Regions from separate parts of the Homo sapiens genome. Here region 2 is linked to region 1. Evidence: promoter capture Hi-C in human tissues and cell types (Jung and others, 2019). All regions are on one chromosome and are shown on one strand. The core of a region is centred on a gene start or on the middle of the fragment in contact, and the rest is flanking DNA. Distances in the headings are between cores, read along the strand shown.

What was found. The method cuts DNA at HindIII sites, captures the fragments that hold promoters and counts their contacts. A contact is called where the count stands out against the background at its distance.
Region 2: a fragment that was not itself captured here is called in contact with the fragment with the promoter of ADAMTS2 in region 1 in 2 of the 25 tissues and cell types used here (dorsolateral prefrontal cortex and spleen).

What each region holds. Positions count from the first base shown.
Region 1 is chr5:179,342,835-179,346,720 of GRCh38, forward strand. It overlaps ADAMTS2 (ADAM metallopeptidase with thrombospondin type 1 motif 2), which reads right to left and starts at 2,627. Exons shown (of 22, transcript NM_014244.5): 1 at 2,356-2,627; 2 at 933-1,327. The coding sequence starts at 2,494. It overlaps LOC105377759 (a long non-coding RNA gene), which reads right to left. Exons shown (of 3, transcript XR_941311.3): 3 at 3,527-3,886. The HindIII fragment of the contact is 12,907 bases long and covers 1-3,886 here.
Region 2 is chr5:179,415,453-179,419,524 of GRCh38, forward strand. No RefSeq gene overlaps it. Among named protein-coding and RNA genes, the nearest start is that of ADAMTS2, 72 kb to the left of the region's middle. The HindIII fragment of the contact is 6,389 bases long and covers 1-4,072 here.

The DNA of each region.
Region 1 (3,886 bases), core at 1,377-3,876:
ATCCAGGCTTCCTCTGAGGCCCCCTTGTGCTGAGCCACGGTCCCTCCTGCCCTCTCCAGGAAGCAGAGCTTCCCAGAGCTCCAGTCACAGGACTAGAGAGGCGCAGGCAGTCTCAAAAGGGATCCCCTAGCCTCTCTCTTGTCCTTCAGGCGCTGCCCCCAAAAGATCGAGCAGCTCATGGGCACTAGAGCCTTCATTTCCAAATGCACCCCTCAGCTCAAAATAGAGAAAACCAACTTTTCAAAGAACCAGCTGGAGTTCAACAGGAAACCACAGCAGAAAAACCAATGATTCCCGGTCAGCCAAGGGGCAGAGGGCTAACTGGGCATTTCAGCATCACTGCCAGCTCCCTGGGCTGGTATTACCCGCACGCAAGGAAACAGGAAGACTGACTGCCAGCCCATAAGTCCACCACACACATATCACGCCAGTATGCACAAGGACGGACACAAACTCAACAGATGCTCAACACACTGATGTGCAGAAACCCAGACACATACGTGCACAAGAGACACTGGCACACGCACATGTTCACACAGGTGCACGGGCACCCAGATGCAGGTACACACCAACGTTCCACAACACATGTGCACACACTCACAAAGGTACACACACATACACGGACCCACCCCCGGATGCAAGCCAGAGACCTGTTCAGGCAGGCAAAAGAGAGAGGCGCACGCTCCTGCCTGCTGAGCCTTTTGGAGACCCGGGCGCTCCCCATGCATAAATGGCCCCCTGCTCAGACCAGTCAAAACAACCTGCTTTCCAGCCAAGCCCTTCAGTTGGAGCACGAGGCTCACTAAAGCACGGGAAGGGCGCGGAAAGTCCTCAGCGCAGGCCTTGCCCTCCCAAGGGACTCCCAGGTAACCCTTTTCCAAAACCCAGGCGAGAGCAGCGGAGAGAAAGGAGCTAGAGAAGTGCGTACTCACCAGCCCATCGCAGTTGCTGAGCGCCACAGAGGAGGCTTCGGCTAGGCCGGCCACGTCTCCGACGTAGAGACAGCTCCCGAGCAGGGGCTCCACGCGGGTGGTGCCCTTCTCGCCCTGCCACTCCATAGTGGCCCCGGGCGCCACGAGGCGGGCGTTGGGCCGCAGCCGCAGGTGCAGGTCTCGGCCAAAGACCGTGACATTGTAGAAGAGGTGACTGCCAGGCTCCTCCTCGTTGCCTCCGGGGAAGCTCGGGGTCCGGACCGGGGCGGCCCTGCGGGCTCGTACCCCTGCTCTGGACGTAGCTGCCGACACCACGTGGGACACCAAGCGGCCCTGGGCGTCAGTGCGCACGGGCACCGCCAGGATGCGCTCCGCTCCGTGCCCCAGGGGCCCGCCTGCAACGGGAAGGGGCGTTAGATCGGCGGAGACCACGGAGCCCCAGTGCCTCAGAGACCCGCCGGCAAGCCACGCCCCCCCAGACCCCGCCCCACTGCGAAGGGAAGGGGCATTCCGCCAGGCGACCCCAGAAGCCAGCCTGCACCTCCCCGGCTTTCCTGCAACCGGGAAGGGGCGTTAACAGGGCCACCACTCCGGGGCTCCGCCACTCCCCAGCCGTTCCCTCCTCCGGAGACCTTGCCTGCCAAGAGCTCTGCCCCCTGCCCCGTTCAGGGTTGGGGCTCGGTGGGAACCTCCCCGTGCCCGAAGGGACGACCCCGTCAGAGAGTCCCCCGACCCTTGCACCTACCGTCCTTGGCAGGACGTGGAGCTGCTCGGAAGCCATTCCGGGTTGGCCCCCTTACCCGTGTGCCACGACCCCTCGGCGGGCCCCTGCCGCCCGAGTGCCCTCACCGCCAGCCTCCGGAGCGGCGGAGTCTCGGCTTCCCCGAGCACGAGCGGCCTGTCCTGCCTGTCCAGCTCCCGCTCAGCCCGCTGCCGGCCCCGTCTCCCCGAGCGCCCGAGGACTGGGAGGGGTGGAACAGGGTCCCTCCGATCTCCGGGGATTCCCTGCGGGGCGCCCCAACCAATCCTTAGGGCCCAAGGCTACGCGCTCGGCAGCCGGCTCCTCCGGAGCGTCCCCGGACGCGAGCCCCGGCGCCGCCTCGCCCTGGCTCCCCCCTCGGACCCGCTGGGGCTGACTCTGCGCTCTTGGCCGCGGGGCTTTTCCCGGCCCTCCGTCCCCACCCTCCGCGACTCAGGAGCCGCCAGTGCTCCGAGGCTCCCCCGGCCCAAGGCGCTCGGGGGCGGTGCGGGGCGCCCCCTGCGCGACCAACCCGGCCCCGAAGTTGGCCAACTTGGCCCCGGGCGGGGCGCGCGGAGTTTGCCCAAGTCAGGCTGGACGACGCCTGGGGAGGGGGCGGCGGGGCACGCGGGACAGGGCCAGGCCGGCGGGGGTCCCGGGGAGTAGGGGCCGGGCCGCACCTACCTGGGGGGTCGGCGGCGGCGGCGAGCCTGGCGTTCGCGGGCGGCGGCGGCGGCGGCAGGAGCGGCGGCGGCAGCAGCAGCAGCAGCAGCAGCAGCGCGGGGCAGAGCAGGCGGCGAGCGGCTCCCGCCGGCGGATCCATGGCAGCCGGACTGCAGCCGGGGCCCCGCACTCGCAGCCGGCGCGAAAGTTCCCCGCGAGCCGCCCAGCCCACATCTGGGGGCAGCTGGAGCCGCCCGCAGCTGCAGCACCGCAGGGCGCGGGGCGGAGGAGGCGAGGCGCGGAGGGGCGGGCGGGGGAGCGCGGAGGGAAGGCGGGGAGAGGGAAGGAGCGAGCGAGCGAGGGAGGCAGGCGGGAGGGAGGGAGGCGAGCGAGGGGGAGGGCGGGGACGGCGGGCGCCTCAGCCTGCGGTGACCCGGCGCATCTTGGCGCGGCCGCCGCCGCCGCCCGCTTCCCTCTTCGCGCCGCCGTCGCCGCGGTGCCGGGCTCGCAGCGAAGCAGAGACACCCCGAGGCGGCGGCAGAGAAGCGCCGCGGGCCGGGCCGGGGGAGCCCCGCCGCCAGCCACCCCAGGGGCACAACCTCCGAGGAGCGGCGCCGGCCGAACGTCCCCACCTAGAGAGCCCTTGGGGTGCCGGGTCCCACCCATCAGCCCTGGAATTCAAGGGGTGCATCCCCCTGTCTCTGTGCTCTGGGGCAGGACAGGGTGAGGGAATGAAAGGGGAGGGGGGACTGACTACTGGGTCCAAGGTCTGAGCCAGGCCGAATGCCCAAATAGAGGCCGCAAAGGCCAGAAGATGCTGTTAGGAGGGTACACCCAGGGCGCGACCCCAAAGATCAACTTTTGCCCTTACTGAGAGAGGCAAGGCTCCTTCAGTCCCCAGTTCCTCTTCCTCTGAAGTCCCTGTCCCCTGTCCCCCATCTGCCTTCCCATCCCTCCGCTGCAGCCTCAGCACAGCCTCTTCCTGCCAGACCTGGGCTCTCTGCCCATGAGCACAGTCAGGCTCCTGCCCTCACCTGTCCTCAACCCCACGTATGCATTCTGTCCTCCCGCCATTGCACTCCCGGCCCCCAACCTGAAATGGCCTCTCCAAGCTCTGCCTACCTTTTCCACCCAAGCATCCAAGGACACCTGGGCCCATTCTGGGGCCAGTTTGCTGTTAGAGCCCGTTGCCAACCGGAACCCCTCCCCAGTCCCTCCTCTCCAGCAAGGCCCTGATCCTCCCATGCTGTCTGAGCTCAGCGGCCTCTCTCCAGGGCCTGCCTGAGAGCCCCCTCTCAGGCTGTTGATCATCTCTGCCCTGGGACCCCCAATTTCTGCCTCACTTCCCCAGAGGGTGAACACCCACCCCTTTGATTTTCTCATTTGCCCTGCCCCAGGTCTGTGTGGCCAGGGCTTTGGTCTTTGCTTTGGCCAGGGGCAGAGGACCCGGAGATGACTCAGGCCTCTCCCTGCTGGCCAGGAGGTCCCAGTCGTTGGGGGAAACACGACTTACACAGCAGGCTCTAACTGTGATCTCACGTCCTTGGTTCTT
Region 2 (4,072 bases), core at 280-2,779, 72 kb after region 1:
GCAGGGATTGTGCGAGAAATGCCTCCCTATTCCCCAGGAGCTTCTGGAGGTGGGGTGGGACGGCAGTTTTCACTGAATGAGGAAGGGCGTGATTGCAGTCGCTGCTGGCAGCCACTCTGCTACCAAGAGTAGAGCCAGCCTTAGGATGAAGCTGGCACCATTGGAGGTGAAAAGCAGACAGCCAGAAGGGATCTGTGTTTTTCATGACACCATTGAGCTGCTCGATCAAGCCTCTCCTGAAGTCCACATACCCTGTATGAAACTTTAATTCGATGACTCTATAAATCATCTTCAAGTACAGCTGGATTTACGGGCTCAAAACAACACCTCCAGTCCCTAGGTATTCTCTGTTTCTCCAGTCTATTCCGGATGGTTTTGCTTTCAGCCTCCTCATGGTGGCAACGTGGCTGCCACCACATTGTTCCAGGCCTTGTTCTTCCCAGAAGTTCCCACACCAGCCCCAGGACTCAGTAGAATTGAATCAGCTTGATGTTCGGACCTACCATGAGCCAGTGGAGAGGGGCTGGAGCCCCACAGAGACCACAGGGTCTGCAAAGAGAGGTGGGATGGAGGCTGCATCCCAAGGGCTCTTGGGCACTGTTCCTAGGAGAAGAGGGGATGGCTGACCAACAGGCAAAGCCCATAGCCCCGGCCCCAACAGTGCCCTCCCTCCAGCCCCAGGAGGGCAGCCCCACCCCACACTGCCGCCCTGCCTCCCTCCTCAGTGCCCACCCTAAGGAGCGTCCACAGGGTCACAGCCTGCCTGCCACACCGCCGCAACCAGCATCTCCCACAGCCGCCCTGAAAACCACTCGTCACCAGGACAGCACCACCTCGGAGACAGTGTCAAACCTCACACCCCAGCCAGCCAGGGCTCTCTCAGCCCACGCCCCTCCCCACACCCAGATCTTGTCCACACCTGCCCCCACCTCTCTTCCTTCCCTACTCAGCCTGGAACCAGAGGTCCAGCTGCCCACCTGCTCTCCCGCCAGGACGTCTGCAACCCTGCCAGGCAAGCGCAGCAAAGCCTTGCTCCCAAGGGGTGAAAATGGGCCTTTTCTCAAATAACCAGGGGACTGACGTGGCTCCCCTACGAAAATCCAGGATCCTCAGTGGCAATGGCGTCCTCAGCAGCACTGACACCGGCTCCTGGCCCCGCCGTCATATTCCATATACCCTCGCCACACGCCACAAGGGGCCTGGCAGACCCTCCTGCTTCACTCAGCCTGAGGAGTCTCCTCTCCACTGCCCCCTCCCAGAGCCTCCCCACAGGCTCGGAGGGCCCTGCTCTACTCGGGACCCATGCCCCTGTCCACCCAGGTAAGGGTTAATAAGATTAGCTGTCACTGAGATGAGATGTTTACCCACCTCCAGACTCCGGATGAAGATAGAAATGGTATTTATGATTTCTACCCAACGTTTCTGGAAAGGATTTAAGGTGCTTACGAGAACACACACATATAACAGGATTGCATAAATTAAATGTGGGAGCCAAAAAAGACAGGAAAACGGGGATGGGGACATAACATCGAGCAGGGGAGGAGGCTATTGTGGAAACAAAGGCCATGTGAGCTATGGGCTTGCCTGGGTGGTCGCAGCGTGCCCCATGGCTCTCCAGCAGCTGGCCTGAAAGAGCAAACCAGGGGCTGGAAGCGGCAGGGCCGGTAACATTAAAATGCACACACAATTACCCGGGAGACACCCCAGCAGCAACAGGAATGTCTCCCAAGGGAGCAGACAGCAAGGACGGTTAGGAAGGAGGGGGTTGACGGGCTTCCTTCCGGGGCTGTGGGCTTGGAAGCTGGGATGCTGGGCAAGAGGCGGGGAATGAGATGGTTCTGGCCACCCTGCTGCCTGCACTGGGGCAGTGAGGAAACCCCACAACTGCTGTGCCCTGCTGGGCAGGTGCTGGCCTGTGATGCTGGGCTCTCTATGGGCGCAAAGGGTCCAGCCCAGGCAGCACCTGGGCCCCACCAGCCTCTCCTGCACCTGCTCAGTCCTGCCATGGCACCTGCCCTCTGTCCTGGGTCACTCCTGATGGCTGGGTCAGAGCACTCACTGGCCCTCTTCAGGGCATCCCGGGACCCAGGAAATCCCTTCTGCTCCTGCTTTGGGCCCCAACTCATTCCCCTTTCGTATCTTTAGTGCACAAGCATTTACTAAGCACCTGCAGGATGCAGCCAGGGGATGTGAAGGTTATAGAGGAAAGGAGAGAAAAGTTTCAACTAAAGCTGCCTGCAGCCACTTCAGTCTTTTGGGAAGTGGCACAGGGTCAAGAGGGTGCCCAGGTCTCATGGCTCAAACCTCAGGAAGGTGCCCAGAGGACAGGGCCAATGGCATGCCCCAGGGGCACAGTGGTGGAGAGGGTCAGGGCAGAGGCCAGCAGCACGGGTGGCATGGGCAACAGGCAAAGTTCTGGGAGCCTTGTGTAGGTCTCCCAGAAGCAGCTGGGTGACCACGGGACAGGTGAGACCCTCGGGCTGCCATGGGCTCAGGGAGGGGAGGCAGGACCCAAGGCCACGTGGGCCTTAATGCCAAGTGAATTCATTGGTACCCGAGGCCCACAAAGCCCTGGGCAGTCCTGCCATAGATGAACAATTCTACTTGCATGGCACCTGTTACATCTTTCTCTGGTTGCAAATGTAATGTGCCCTCAGCATCAGCAACAACAACAACTTTAAAAATGCAAAGGGAAAACACAAAAAACAGCCACAATTCCACCATGTGTTGTGTTGGGGGTGGCTCTCAGTTTGGTGTATGACCTGCTAGTCTTTCTTTGTTAATACGTAGTCCGGTGCAGTGGCTCACGCCTGTAATCCCAACACTTTGGGAGGCAGAGGTGGGCGGATCACCTGAGGTCAGGAGTTCACAACCAGCCTGACCAACATGGCAAAACCTCATCTCTACTAAAAAATACAAAAAAATTTACACCTGTAATCCCAGCACTTTGGGAGGCCAAGGTGGGTGGATCACAAGGTCAGGAGATTGAGACCATCCTGGCTAACATGGTGAAACCCCATCTCTACTAAAAATACAAAGAAGTAGCTGGGCATGGTGGTGGGTGCCTATAGTCCCAGCTACTGGGGAGGCTGAGGCAGGAGAATGGCGTGAACCCGGGAGGCGGAGCTTGCAGTGAGCCGAGATCGCGCCACTGCACTCCAGCCTGGGCAACAGAGAGAGACTCCATCTCAATAATAATAATAATAATTAGCCAGGTGTGGTGGCAGGTGCCCATAATCCCAGCTACTCGGGAGGCTGAGGTAGGAGAATCACTTGAACTCGGGAGGCGGAGGTTGAAGTGAGCCAAGATCGCGCCACTGCACTCCAGCCTGGGCAACAGAGTAAGACTCTGTCTCAAAACAAACAAACAAACAAAAGCATGTATTTTGGAAAACTGCGTGGCAAAACCTCTGTGGCCAAAATAAGAATTAAAAAAAGACAAACTGGGGAAAATATTTAGATCTGATATCACTGACAAAGACACTAGAAACAGACCCTGGAAGTCACAGGAAAAAGACACAATTTAAATGTGCAACAGCAGTGACACATAAGCGGGGATGAGGGTGTTCCACGGTCTCTGTGTCATCTGGGAGGAAGATGAGGGTGTTGGTCGACACCAACTTTGCTGAGTTAAGGACAAGTGTGTGATTTCCAGGATGACTCCTCAGTGGGATTTACAGAATTCAGGACAGTGTCTGCCTGTGGGGAGGAGGAAATCACGACACAGAGGGCTCGCGCAGTGGAGCGGGTCCGGGTGCTGGGCGTGCTTCTGTTCCTGCCCTGCCTGCTGGTTTATCTCAGTCTCATTGAGGACATTCATCGCACTGTGCAAATGCCTCATACGCCCTGCTCATCCCATGTGCTAAGTCACAAGTTTTTTAAAGAATATTAAAAGGTGCTCAATGCCATTCATAATAAGATAGAAAATTTCAACTCTTTTTCCAAGATCAAAAATGTCAGAGCTCACTGTGTTGGTAAAGGCGTGGAGAAACGGGCTGTCCACGCGCTCCTACTGGAGTGTGATTGGTGTGTCTGCCGTGGAGGGTGCTTTGGTGATTTCAACCCAAATTTC